Linked DNA regions of Homo sapiens: regions 1, 2, 4 and 5 are each linked to region 3. Evidence: promoter capture Hi-C in 16 types of primary human blood cells and fetal thymus (Javierre and others, 2016). All regions are on one chromosome and are shown on one strand. Each heading gives the region's core, a stretch centred on a gene start or on the middle of the fragment in contact. The rest is flanking DNA. Distances are from core to core; before and after follow the strand shown. Region 1 overlaps KLHL33 (kelch like family member 33). Region 2 holds the start of RNASE3 (ribonuclease A family member 3). Region 3 holds the start of OR6S1 (olfactory receptor family 6 subfamily S member 1). Region 4 has its middle 34 kb from the start of RNASE3. Region 5 overlaps LOC100507513 (a long non-coding RNA gene).

The links. The method cuts DNA at HindIII sites, captures the fragments that hold promoters and counts their contacts. A CHiCAGO score of 5 or more calls a contact.
Region 1: a contact is called between a fragment that was not itself captured here and the fragment with the promoter of OR6S1 in region 3, in 1 of 17 cell types (naive B cells). The highest score is 6.7, in naive B cells.
Region 2: the fragment with the promoter of RNASE3 here is called in contact with the fragment with the promoter of OR6S1 in region 3 in 12 of 17 cell types (M2 macrophages, total B cells, M0 macrophages and 9 more); the score reaches 11.8 in M2 macrophages.
Region 4: a fragment that was not itself captured here is called in contact with the fragment with the promoter of OR6S1 in region 3 in 8 of 17 cell types (naive B cells, total B cells, M2 macrophages and 5 more); the score reaches 10.2 in naive B cells.
Region 5: a contact is called between a fragment that was not itself captured here and the fragment with the promoter of OR6S1 in region 3, in 11 of 17 cell types (naive B cells, erythroblasts, total B cells and 8 more). The highest score is 12.8, in naive B cells.

Annotation. Positions count from the first base shown.
Region 1 is chr14:20,429,818-20,432,517 of GRCh38, forward strand. KLHL33 (kelch like family member 33) reads right to left here. Exons shown (of 5, transcript NM_001365790.2): 3 at 1-902. Among named protein-coding and RNA genes, the nearest start is that of KLHL33, 5.0 kb to the right of the region's middle. The HindIII fragment of the contact is 2,721 bases long and covers 1-2,689 here.
Region 2 is chr14:20,890,025-20,892,724 of GRCh38, forward strand. It overlaps RNASE3 (ribonuclease A family member 3), which reads left to right and starts at 1,361. Exons shown (of 2, transcript NM_002935.3): 1 at 1,361-1,427; 2 at 1,658-2,324. The coding sequence starts at 1,663. The coding sequence ends at 2,145. The region is part of intron 1 of LOC100507513 (a long non-coding RNA gene); the gene reads right to left. The HindIII fragment of the contact is 4,045 bases long and covers 1,327-2,700 here.
Region 3 is chr14:20,640,433-20,643,132 of GRCh38, forward strand. It overlaps OR6S1 (olfactory receptor family 6 subfamily S member 1), which reads right to left and starts at 1,259. Exons shown (of 1, transcript NM_001001968.1): 1 at 264-1,259. The coding sequence starts at 1,259. The coding sequence ends at 264. RefSeq lists an enhancer at 2,196-2,700. The HindIII fragment of the contact is 1,898 bases long and covers 351-2,248 here.
Region 4 is chr14:20,855,604-20,858,303 of GRCh38, forward strand. No RefSeq gene overlaps it. Among named protein-coding and RNA genes, the nearest start is that of RNASE3, 34 kb to the right of the region's middle. The HindIII fragment of the contact is 4,704 bases long and covers 1-2,700 here.
Region 5 is chr14:20,871,645-20,874,364 of GRCh38, forward strand. It overlaps LOC100507513 (a long non-coding RNA gene), which reads right to left. Exons shown (of 4, transcript XR_110261.4): 3 at 1,915-2,720. Among named protein-coding and RNA genes, the nearest start is that of RNASE3, 18 kb to the right of the region's middle. RefSeq lists enhancers at 2,148-2,247, 2,358-2,407. The HindIII fragment of the contact is 1,516 bases long and covers 626-2,141 here.

The DNA.
Region 1 (2,700 bases), core at 79-2,578, 210 kb before region 3:
GGAGTGACTGTAGAAATCTTGTCCCCCACACACATAGAGTTCACTTCCTGCCAGGCTTGCAGCCCCATGCCGGAAGCGTCCGGGGGCAGGCAGGGCAGGCAGCTGCCCCCACTCAACAGTTCGTACCAGTCCCACGCCACAGCGGAAGGCCCGGGCCCACCACACTGCTCGGGATGGTTGTCTTAGGGCCATGTCTGGTCTGAGCCCATCCCCGCCAATCACTACCAGTGCCCGGTCAGGCTCCCTCCGTCTCTCTTGGCCTGGAACATCAGCCTCTACCATCAGCTGGTGCAACAGATCTGGGGTCAGGGGTGGAAGTAGCCCGGCTGCCCGCACCCTCCGCAACTCCCTGGTGGACATGCGGCCAAAGCGGACACATCGCAGCAGGGCCTTGGCCTCTGACTCCTGGGTCTCGGGGTTGGCAGCCAGCCAACACCGTGCAGCCACAAAGGCCTCAAACTCCTCCTGCACATGGAGCTCATCACTATCCAGGAGCTCAGCCAAGCAGGCAGCTGGTAAAGAAGGGAAAGCAGGACACAAGGCTACAGCAGGCAGGTGGGTGAGGAGGTAGTGACGGGCTTTGCTCCAGAGCCTCTCCAACCCAGGGGCTTCCGCCATGGGGAACAGGGCCAGGCAACGGGCAGGGCTGAGGCCCCGTGCCAAGCCTTTCTGACACAAATCCAAGCAGGAAGAGCTCTGGTACTGCAGAGCAGCCTGGGCAGCTCTCAGTAGCCCTGGCCACCTTGCCCGCACAACTCCGGAGTAAGCAAAAGAGACGAGGAGTCGCAGGTCCTGGGTGGAGATCGTCCGCAGAGATACCTCTGTGCCCTGGGATTCCCTCATCCCGCTCAGGAGCATGGCCCCAAAGAACTCACTGCCACAGGCCAGGGCGGCTCGGTGCACTGCAGGAGGGGAGAAGGAATAGAGGAGGACTCAAAGTATTGCAAGACCGATAGGCATTACCCCAACTTGGTACTCTAAGTTTGGCCAAACTCTAAGTTTGGCCCTCCAAGCCACCCACTGCTACAGACCAAACTGTGGTGTGCATCAGAATACCATGGGGTAGTTGTTAAAATGCAGGTTTCAGCAGTCCACTCCCAGAGATTCTGATTCAGCAGTTCTGGACGGAGACCCTAGAAATTTGTATTGTAACACTTCAAGTAACCCTATGTGATTCTCATGTTAGTGGCCTGAAGACACTTAGATAAACATTGCTTTAGTCTTTTTGGTCAGATGAGTCAGAAAAAGAGTCTTCATGGATCAGGTTGAGAGGAAAGCATTTGCTAAGAGGAGCACAAAATAAATGGGAAATGACCAACAAGCAACTTATATAGGTCTGTCTATATCGTGACAAAATAAAATTCTTTACAATCAAGAGCCAAGACTGTCAGCCATTCTGTTAGATTTTGCTGGGAAAGTGGCACCACTCGGGAATGGCTGTAATCCAACCTCATCGGATTGCTGTCTCCTCTTGCCTAAGATTTAGTGTTTAATGTTTTCCGTGCGTCCCAGCTTTTCTCTGCATAACCCTCTCCTGTTCTTGGTGTAATTTGTAGAATCATGAGATCTGAAACTTGAGAACTTCAAAATAATCTAATTCAATTATTCCCTTTAAAATAAGGAAACTGGTTGGGTGTCGTGGCACACACCTGTAATCCCAGCACTTTGGGAGGCTGAGGTGGGTAGGATCACTTGAGGTCAGGAGTTCAAGGCCAGCCTGGCCAACATGGTGAAACTCCATCTCTACCAAAAATACAAACATTAGCCGGGCATGGTGGCAGGCGCCTGTAATCCCAGCTACTTGGAGACTGAGGCAGGAGAATAGCTTGAACCTGGGAGGCGAGGGTTGCAATGAGCTGAGACTGCGCCGCTGCACCCAGCCTGGGTGACAGAGCGAGACTCCATCTCAAAATAAATAAATAAATAAAATGTGGAAACTGAGTTGGGTCCCAAAGAAAGCATGTGATTTATTTTTCATTTCCATGCAGTGGCTGTGTGGGCAGATCATCTCCATCCACTGCCACTGATGTCAGGCTGCAATAAGCATGCTTGTGTACCAATACCTTGGTTATCTGCATGGTCCTCATGACAATGAAACTGTCCTATTAACCTACGCTGTTAAACAATTAGACCTCATACTCAGCATCACTTATGGATTATTCTGGCCAAAATATTTAACTTGAATCTGTTCAACTCTTTAGATCTAAAGTCAAGTTTATAGGAAGTTGAAAGGCTAAAGGAACAATTTAGAGGGGAAAAACCACACAAATCAAGAAAATGGAGCATTTTATAGGATAACCAATTTTTTTTTTTTTGAGATAGGGTCTTACTCTGTCACCCTGCCTGGAGTGCAGTGGTACAATCTCGGCTCACTGCAACCTCCACCCTCCAGCTTCATGTGATTCTCGTGCCTCAGCTTCCAGATTAGCTGGGACTACAGGTGCACGCTACCATGCCTGGCTAATTTTTGTATTTTTAGTAGAGACGGTTTCGCCATGTTGGACAGGCTAACCTTGAACTCCTGGCCTCAAGTGATCTGCCTGCCTCGGCCTCCCAAAGTGTTGGGATTACAGGCGTGAGCCACTATGCCTGGCCCAGGGTAACCAATCTTACATGTTATTGTCTTTACCAATCAATATATAAAGTAATAAAAAAAAAAAAGGAGGAAGGACTGTACTAGATTAAAGGAAGCTTAAGAGA
Region 2 (2,700 bases), core at 111-2,610, 250 kb after region 3:
GGACCCCAGTGATAAAATTATTGCATTTCTAAATGACAGGAAAATTGGACGGTAGTAAAAATTAGGCAGATTAACTGTTGGAAGGTATATTATATCATTTAAGGGTCTACTTTCCATTTTCTAATCTCAAAGCTAGACCAGATTTAACATCTGTTAGTACCCAGGCCTTACCTTTGCAATTCACTTCTCACCTCTGTACAATTTCCCCACATCATCCCCTGTGCCCAGAATGCTCATCTCTTCTCTAAATCCCCTGAAAATCCCCTGCTTATCCTTTAGGACCTGCTGAAATAAACTTTTTTTTGAAGTTTTCCTTATTTCTCAAGCCAAGTGATTTCCTTCACCAGCAGTGTCCCTATGACACCATGTTCACACAAATGCTATTACCTCTATCACACTGTAATACAATTATATGTCTACAAGTACTTTCCTGTGTTTCTCTGAGGGCCAAGAATAAATGTATGCTTTGTGTATCAAACTGTACACTTGACCTCTATACTTTCAGGAATACAGTGCTCTGTCCTTAAATGTTCATTTGTAAATACAGAACCATATTCTTGTTAATATCACAAAATGAAACTTACCAGGAAGATGAATGACAACCCCAGAACACACTGTTTTGTAGAAAATACCATAGGCTGAAAAGATCACAGGAATACCGAGTGCTAGGTTGGAATCTTTCATGACACCAAATGTTCATTCATCCTCTGCCAGATTTTACAACTGTCCTCGGTGTGTTTTTAGGTTATGTAACTTTACACAAAGTGGAATCAATAATCAGGGCAAGACTTAAGAGAAAGTGGATCCAATGCAAGAGGAGTAAAGAAAAAAATTCCTCAATTGTATGGAGCAGATTGTTTTAATTATCTACAGAATCTTGTGCCCCAAGAAATTAATAGCTCAAGTTTCCAGCAAGAGTGGTGGATGAGATGGAGAGCATTTATGTGAGAGAGAACCAAGGATATTACTAAAAATGGAAGGGAAGCTGGGTTTCTCCTGGGCAAACAGCCCTCTGTGGCTCTATTTCTCCTAACTACTATGCCTGCCTTCGTGTCATTTAGTCATTTAGGGGCCTGCCAGAGGACAGTTATAAAATCTGTGGTCATTCTGCCGGCAGCGTATAGTTTTCACCCAGAGTCCAGATCCCACCGGCAAAACTCTGTCTAACACAGGATGACTTGGAATTAGAGTCCGTATAGCAGAAAGAGCAGCAGGGCTGTCCTTGGGTATCCGTTGCTCAGCCAAGTCATCAAATAAAAAGGATGATTGCACAAGTGGACCATGTGTCAATCTGTGGGTTTCTGCATGGCCAGACCCACCAAGGGAAGCTTTATTTAAACAGTTCCAAGTAGGGGAGACCAGCTGCCCCTGAACCCCAGAACAACCAGCTGGATCAGTTCTCACAGGAGCCACAGCTCAGAGACTGGGTAAGTCAACAATCCCCAGAGCTGGGACAGGAGGGGCAGCGACAGGGCAGCACCTGAGGGAGAGGTGAGCTGAAGTTAGTGCTTAGGAGATGTGGCACACTTTGGGGACAGGAAGAAAAGGAAATGCGACCCCAGAGTGGCAGCAGAGGGGCCTGTGGGTTGAGACACTATAGAGTGTGTCATAACCGAGACCGGATCGGGGAGTAGTTACTTCTCTTCTTTTCTTACAGGAAACATGGTTCCAAAACTGTTCACTTCCCAAATTTGTCTGCTTCTTCTGTTGGGGCTTATGGGTGTGGAGGGCTCACTCCATGCCAGACCCCCACAGTTTACGAGGGCTCAGTGGTTTGCCATCCAGCACATCAGTCTGAACCCCCCTCGATGCACCATTGCAATGCGGGCAATTAACAATTATCGATGGCGTTGCAAAAACCAAAATACTTTTCTTCGTACAACTTTTGCTAATGTAGTTAATGTTTGTGGTAACCAAAGTATACGCTGCCCTCATAACAGAACTCTCAACAATTGTCATCGGAGTAGATTCCGGGTGCCTTTACTCCACTGTGACCTCATAAATCCAGGTGCACAGAATATTTCAAACTGCACGTATGCAGACAGACCAGGAAGGAGGTTCTATGTAGTTGCATGTGACAACAGAGATCCACGGGATTCTCCACGGTATCCTGTGGTTCCAGTTCACCTGGATACCACCATCTAAGCTCCTGTATCAGCAGTCCTCATCATCACTCATCTGCCAAGCTCCTCAATCATAGCCAAGATCCCATCCCTCCATGTACTCTGGGTATCAGCAACTGTCCTCATCAGTCTCCATACCCCTTCAGCTTTCCTGAGCTGAAGTCCCTTGTGAACCCTGCAATAAACTGCTTTGCAAATTCATCTGGAAGTGTCTGTGTGTCTTCCTCGGCCGCTCTGCTGTCATTTAGTGACAATCTGCTCTAGAGATTTGGGTTTATCATGAATCTCTCCCCCTCAATATCTGACCAAATTCCTTAATTCCCCCATCATCCTTCATGTGATACCTGATTCCAGGCCTGCCTTAAAAAAAAATCCAATTGAGTCAACTTAGCATTGGTCTCCCTAGCCTTAATATCTCCTCTAAGCAATTTTCCATCCACTGACTCCTCCCCCAACACCAACCTATAACTTGTGTATAGATCTCCACTTGTTTTAGTTGTATTCCAGAATTGAGCCCAATTTGATATTGAGGTCCCATTTGATGCTTTATGGTCCGACTATGGTTTTTATTGACATG
Region 3 (2,700 bases), core at 9-2,508:
GAGACTAGCCTGGTCATCGAGTGAAACCCCATCTCTACTAAAAATACAAAAATTAGCCAGGTGTGGTGGTGGGCACATGTAATCCCAGCTACTCAGGAGGCTGAGGCAGGAGAATTGCTTAAACCCAGGAGGTGGAGGTTGCAGTGAGCTGAGATCGCGCCACTGCACTCCAGCCTGGGCGACAGAGTGAGACTTTCTCTCTCTCTCTCTCAAAAAAAAAAAAAAAAAAAAAAAAAAAAGACTAGTTACTAGACTCTTCACTTTTACTTTACTGCTTTCTCACTGAGACATTTATCAAGTAAAAGATTCCCTAAAACGCCTGCCACTACCTTCCTAAACATGTCCTTCAAAGCTTCCTTGACTTGCTCATTACGTAAGGCATAGATGAATGGATTCAACAGTGGTGTCACAAATGTCGTTATTACTGTCACTGCCCAGTTAGTGTCCACAGAACCACTCTGCGATGGCCGCACATAGAGAAAAATGGCACTTCCATAGAAGAGGGTCACCACTATCAAGTGGGAGGTACAGGTAGAGAAGGCCTTCTGACGGCCTGAAGCAGAGGGGATGCTCAGGACTGCCAGCACAATGAGGCCGTAGGACACAGCAGTGATCAGCAAGGAAGATACAATGACGAGGGAGGCCAGGACAAAGTCAGTCTCCTCCAGCTTCTTGGTGTTGGTGCAAGCCAGGCGGAGCAGTGGGCCACTGTCGCAGAAGAAGTGCTGTACCACAGCACCCTGCTTACAGAAAGGAAGCAAGGCCACAGCCACTGTGGGACCAAGCACAGGGACGAGTCCCCCCACCCAGCAGGCCAAGGCCACACGAAAGCACACAGCCCCACTCATGAGCAAGGGGTAGCGCAGAGGATGACAGATGGCCAGGTAGCGATCCGCAGACATGACAGCCAACAGTAAGAACTCGGAGGCCCCGAGAAAGAAGTAGAAATAGAATTGGGTGATACATGCAGCAAAGGAAATAGTGTGTTGCCTTGAGAGGAAATTGCTCAGCATCTTTGGAATGATGACAGAAGTGAGCAGTATCTCTAGGCAGGACAGGTTACCCAGAAAGAAGTACATAGGGGTCTGTAGTCGAGTATCAGCCCTTACCACCCCCACAATCAACACATTGCCTGTCAGATTCAGGAGATAGACAAGAAGAAACACAGAAAATAATTCCACTCTTGCGCTGTTGAGATTTGGGAGCCCTGCCAGGACGAACTCTGTTGGATCACTACTGTGGTTCCCATCAGGACTCATTGTCTTTTTCACCTGTCCAACAACAAAAACATGATCCTGGTAAGAGCAGGTCCTCTGCTTACAGTCCTGAAACTTACTTCATCATGATATGGGACTCATATCCCCAGTTTATCCAATTGCAGGTCCTGTTAAGATCTGAAGCACTTAAGGTCATCATCTGATTGATTTTAGCACTAGAGAAGATTTTCTCTAAAGGGTAACAAAACTTAGGTATGAAAATGCCAGGAGCCTCCATCTCCTCCATCTTCACATATCCTGTTCTCAGATCTTAAATAATGACACCTCATTATTGTAATAACAATATCACTGAGCATCTGAGTTGGGCAAAAATATCTGAAAAAGGATTTTGTGAAGAATATGATTACCATTCAACTGGGATCAGAACTTGAGTCAGACTACCTAGTTTTAAATTCCTGCATCTCCACTTACTGGCTGAGTAGCCTTGGTAAGGTTACTTACCCTCTCTGTGCTCCTCAGTTGTGAAATGCTGTAAGGAGCAAATGATATAATAGTGCAAAGAATTTAAGAGTGTCTAGTACTTAACTTAAAAATTATATGGCAGAGAAAGCCCCTGGCTATAAGTTAGGACACCAGAATCTAGGCTTGGCTTGCCATTACTCTTGGAAGATTATCAATTTGTACTTTAACTGTCCAACTGTACAATGAGTCACAGGAATCTAGGCCATTAGTATACCTAATGAAATTATATAAAATTACCCTTTCCGGCAGGACGCAGTGGCTCATGCCTGTAATCCCAGCTTTTGGGAGACCGAGGCGGGCGGATCACTTGAGGCCAGGAGTTTGAGACAAGCCTGGCCAACATGGTGAAACCCCGTCAGATGTTTGTCAGAGCCAAAATTATGAATTTCTGACCGCAACTATTAATAAAAAATTATGTTCTTATTCTTTGATTCTTATTCTTTGCTTCAAGTCCTCCCAGTTCTGAGGACCACCACCAGTTAGAAAAATCAAGTCCATTATATCCAGAAAGCTTGTTTAAAAATGCCTCAGGTATCAGGAGAATCCTTACTCCCTTTTGACAGAGCAGGAGCACCATCGTCTTGGACAAACACTGCCACTTTAAGTTTCAGCTCCCTTTCTAGCCTCATGCATTTCAAAGAAATCACTTCTCTTCTAACTACAGGCAGCCAGAAAGAGCAGACAGTAAAACACAGATAAGACAGCTCGGGCACAGAGGGAGGTGAGGGGAAATTCTTTTGGGTAACCGCCAAACTTCACCATCATACAATGGGCCCCAGTAAAACGATGGGCCTTAATAAGCACCTTTCTTTCCCTTCAGGTGCACTAAGATAGGGAAGCTGAATGGGAGTATGCCTGCAGCTACAGAAAGATTATGGGAACAGACACAAAACTCTCCCTCCCAGATAAGCACAACAAAGAGACACAGAAGCAGTCCAAGCCTCTGATAAACTCTCCCACC
Region 4 (2,700 bases), core at 79-2,578, 220 kb after region 3:
AGAGCTCATTCCCAAGGTGGATGGTCAGCAGTCCAAAGTAAAATGCCTAGTAGATTGAGGCTAATATCAGAATTCTAGAAGAACCAACCCAGTGGGGGAGTAGGTTTCAAGCACTGGCTAACGCTATAAGTCACGTGGGAGCCAGGGTAATGTTTCAGTGAGCAGTCCATTGACAGAAGTTCTGAAACAGGACCCAGCCCTCAGCAGGAGAGCGCTGGTGAGAGATTTGAATCGCTAGGGTCTGGTCATGGTGTCAGTCCCAGAGGACATCTAGTGTTCAAAGCGGGAAATTCAGACAGACGATCACTGAGATATAGAACAGAGGGTAGTATAACATATAATTGGTAGAACATTCTAATTTACACATTTAATGACTTTTTGCAAACTCAGCATGCTAATGTACTACCTGTCTCTCCATTCATCAATGAAACACTTTCTGAGCATAGACTCTGTGCCAGGCAGACCGCTAGGTACTGGAGATGCAAAACACATAACCTAGTCCCAGGGAGCTTCTAGTCCAGTGGACTCACTAGACAGAGCCTTTCATCTTTCTCCACGCACAGCCAGATTCCAGGCATTAGGGAAGGAAGAGAGTATCTGCCACACTGGAAACTTCATCTTCTCATGTGCTTATTGTTTGTATCCCCTTGTATTCTTCTTTCCTCCTTTCCTTTTCTTGGCTCCTTTTCTTCCTTTCAGATATTTCATATCCCCTAATCTATTTTTTTTTTTTTGAGATGGAGTCTCACTCTGTCACCCAGACTAGAGTGCAGTGGCGCGATCTTGGCTCACTGCAACCTTCGCCTCCCAGGTTTAAGCGATTCTCCTGCCTCAGCCTCCTGAGTAGCTGGGATTACAGGCATGCGCCACCACACCCGGCTAATTTTTTGTATTTTTAGTAGAGATGGGGTTTTGCTATATTGGCCAGGCTGGCCCCTAATCTATTGTATTACATGGCTCACATTTTATTGTAGCACAAGTGTGTTTCTGTCTTCAACAATGTGTACTGACTTGGACATCCCAGAGTCAATAATCTGGAGATACTCTGACTTGTATTATTAGTAGTAGGCCTCACGTATTTTTGTGTTTTTACCTAATAAACTTCCAGCTTATTAGAGAATGCTAATCCAGGAGATCCTGGTTTATGTTAGAGTTTGTAGACCACTACTTCAGAAAAATCAGGAGTGTTTGTGAATTCATGATCACACATAGTAGTGAGAGCAAAAAGACACAGTCTAAGGGCATTTGTTTTTTAAATGATTCTAATAGAAATATTCCACATTTTTATAGAATTATCTTGTTTCCCAACTAACAAAAATCTGTACAACAATAACTTCTAACTTTTGGCAATGAGTAGAAAGGGTGGTTCTCACGAATGCTACCACACAGTGGAAATTTCCCCATCCACATTGAGACTGAGGAAGAGATAATCATCAAAAAAATCAGCCCCTTTCCCAGTTAAGGTTCTCTCTTTCTCTCTCTCTCTCTCTCTCTCTCTCTCACACACACACACACCACACACACTTCAAAGCCCTTCTTTAAGTTAGGCCAGGAAAGAGCAACTGAGGCGCCCAACATACAGACCCCTTTACCTTTTCAGAGATTGTCTTTGCAAGTCAGGATCTAATACTGGGGTTCAAGGTAAATTTGATATTACACCCACATGGATATAATTTCATATTCTCCCTATTCTGGACCCTGAGATGGAAAGAGCATAGAGACAGGGCCCAGAGATTTTCCAGCAAGAAAATTAAAGAACATATGTGAGGCAGGATAGTTTGCTGAGATACTACTTTTTCTTTCTTCTCTTTGTATTTTCCTCATGCCTCTAGTTCCAAGCAGAGAGCCAGACCCTTTTGCAATTCCTTAGGATATCTGCAGAATGGAAAGGAGGAAGTGTATGAAGCCAAACTTAATCTTACTGTCTTTTGAGAACCCTGAAATTTGGTGAAAATAAATTGCCTCTTGAAAAGTGTGGCAAAGTTGAGATTGGAGAGAGACTGAGGGCGAAGTTGGAGGGGAGGAAAAATGCAGAGGAGAGGCAGCATGGTGAACCTAGGCTGACTCCAGGCACAGAAGATCCGGACCGCCATGAAAACCCCCACGCCCTCAAGAATGAAACAGAAGCAGCTCAGCTAAGGTTTCTGTGCACCTTCTAAACCGAGGAAGGGGAGCCGGGTCAATCAGGCTCAGAGGTAGAGATGCCTAGCTCACTGCTTGCCGGCAGGGGGCGCTCTCCTATTATTGTATTTTCTTTTTTGAGGACATCAAGACTCAGTGTGCAAAAATTCTCATCAAAGATACAAATTCAAATGTGGTTGCTTTTGTAAAAATACCCATCTTCACAACCCCAGACTACTCCTCAACTCGTGCTTGCTGGAGGCTCCACCCTCTGCATTCTCTTCATTACTTCGGGTCTCTTTGACTTGTCTCTTGTAAGGACGAAGGCTTCGCCAGCATCGGCACACATCTGCTGCCTGATCTGGCCATGTGAACCACTGTCCATCCCTCAGAGGCAAATTCCTCCCACAACACCTGACTTACACCAGCCTTTTCTATCCAGAGACCTTGGCACCAGGATTAAAAAGCAAGTATCTCCTTTATTTGCCTCTATTTGGTGGCCGGATGCTAACACAGTACGATTTTCACCTTTTCTCCCTTCTCTTAACTCTCCCATTTAGCTACACAGGTTTGAGGTTA
Region 5 (2,720 bases), core at 134-2,633, 230 kb after region 3:
CTGGTAGGAAGCCTGGAGGAGTTGTCTCTTGAACCTGTCTGGGGAAGCAGATCTGTGTGGCTCAAGAGGTGGACCTGGCCAGGCACGGTGGCTCACACCTGTAATCCCAGCACTTTGGGAGGCTGAGGAGGGCAGATCACCTGAGGTAAGGAATTCAAGACCAGCCTGGCCAACATGGTGAAACCCTGTCTCTACTAAAAATACAAAAATTAGCTGGGTGTGGTGGCGCATGCCTGTAATCCCAGCTACTCAGGAGGCTGAGGAAGGAGAGTTGCTTGAACCCAGGAACCGAAGGTTGCAGTGAACCGAGATTGTGCCACTGCACTCCAGCCTGGGTGACTGAGTGAGACTCAATCTCAAAAAAAAAGACGGACCCATTCTAAAAAAGTTTCTACATGAGTTTATAAGTACTCGCTTCTGCATGTCTGAAAAAATCTCTGTCTAATAAGAGAGACACACCTCAAAAGTTTTATCAATAAAAAAGGTACAAAAAAGTCAGAATAAAAATAGGACATAAAATCAATGCTATAAATATTAAACAGATTATGAATAACTTTGTGCTAATATATTTGGGAACTTTAGACGAAATGGATAAATTCCTACGTGGGAAAAAACAATCTACCAAAGCTTTCTCAAGAAGAAATGGAAAAGTTAGCATCTCTTTAACCATTAAGGAAATTGAAACAGAAGTTTAAAATAGTTTGAGGCTAAGCCTGGTGGTGTGTACCTGTAGACCCAGCTACTCTGGAGGCTGAGGCAGCAGGATTATTCGAGATCAGGAGTTCAAGCCCAGGAGTTTGAGGCACCTGAGACCGAGTGTTCAAGGATCAGTTGAGACCAGTAATTCGAGGTATGCTCTGTGATTGCACCTGTGAATAGCCACTGCACACTAGCCTGGGCAACATAGGAAGACCCATCTCCAAAAAAAAAAAAAAAGGAAAAGAAAAAAGAAAAAGCAGTCTCAAAGAAAATAAGAAAATATCAGGACCAAACAGCCTTACATGTGAGTTCTACCAAGTATTAAAATAACATATAATTCCAGTTACAAAATAAAGAAGGACTACTCCCCAATTCATTTCTGGAAGCTAACATATAACCTAGATACCAAAATTAAACAAGGCAATACAAAAAATTACAGACCAATCTCATTCGTGAACATAAATGCAAAAAAAATTTAACAAAATATTAGCAAATTAAATTTAGTCATATATAAAAAAGATTATATCACATAACCAAAATGGGTTTATCCCAGGAATACAAGGTTGGTTTAGTATTCTAAAATCAACTAATCTAATTCACCCCATTAACTGATTAAAGAAATATGCTGTATAATCCCATCATTCAACGAAATTCCCAATCCATTCAAGAGACATAAACAGGAGCAGAAGGGAAGAAACTTTTCTAATCTAAAAATGGGCATCTACAAAAGATCCACAGCAACAACCAGACCTACCAAAATGGCCCCTTAAAGATTTCTTGAAGGCACTTTTATAGCGAGCATTAGGCTAAGTGCTGAATGTCAAGAACAAAGGCAAAACAGCTATACCTCCTGGCATCGGGGGAAGGAATGAAAGTAATAGTATCCAGTTTTGTCACTGGATTATTCCAAAAGGGTAAAATCCTCACGCAACTCTGTTCCACAGGCACCGGGCTAGTCAGTTAATGGACGGCTGCCCTAGAGTCAAGTGCCCTCCTTTGCTTCAAAACCTTGTCACCATTCTGCTGGAGTCACAGGGTAGAGAATATGAACACCTTTGGATGCTTCCTCTCGTGGATAAAATAACCTCCTTCAGAAGGGGATCGGTGATGTAATGGATTCCATGAAAGAAATAAACTCTTCTCCAGCGCAGCTGAACTGTAAAGCTCATAACACAAGTAGGTCCTCAGTGCATATTCACTTCCTTTCCTTCTTACCTGAGGTGCTGCAGTGTGAATCTGAAGGTGGCAGGTTCAACGTTAAAGTGCTGCAGTGTATGAAAGTTATGGTAGACTCAGAAATCTGTTCTTCAACAGTTAGACTGTATTTATGCTGGCTGGATTTTGTTTATTCACCTATTATCGTCTACCCGTGTCAGCAACCAAGAAACCTGCAGCCTGTCTCAAAGGAAACCAAGAAAGAAGTTTTGGACTCTTGTGCAGGAAGCTTGTGGCGCGGCGCCCCCTGCCGACCAATACGACGGCCACGGGAACTGGGAGACCACGAAGGCTCTGGGCCTGCGGAGTTGCCCAAGCTCCTCCGGCTTCTCCGGAAACGGCTTTTTCCGGTGACACCCCTGGAGCCACAGTGATTTGTTTCCCTAAAGGAAGCGGTTTCCCGCCAGGGTATCGTCCCTAATACCCTCCGAAGGAGCCCATTGAGGAGAAAGGCATAGAATGTCCCGCAGAAGGCAGAAGGACCCTATGATCCAGGAAACCTAGGGCCAGCCATCAGGAGGTTTTATGAGAGCAGCTGGTGGGAAGATCAGCCCCAGGAGAAGGGGATTGTCTAGCAGCTTGGTTGGAGCAAGTCTTTTCCCGAGTATTATTTCCGTAATTCAGGCTCCCTCCCACCAACCCTCCACTGCAGCCTTATCCTCCACCAAAAGCCCTGACACTGTGGCAGGGGTAGGGCACATGGGGTTGGTGGGGAACAGGCTGTAAGAAAGACGCAGGAGCCTGCGTGCAAAGGACGAAGCATTTACAAAGAAGACCTTGACAGTGCTGCACAGATTTGAAGGCGT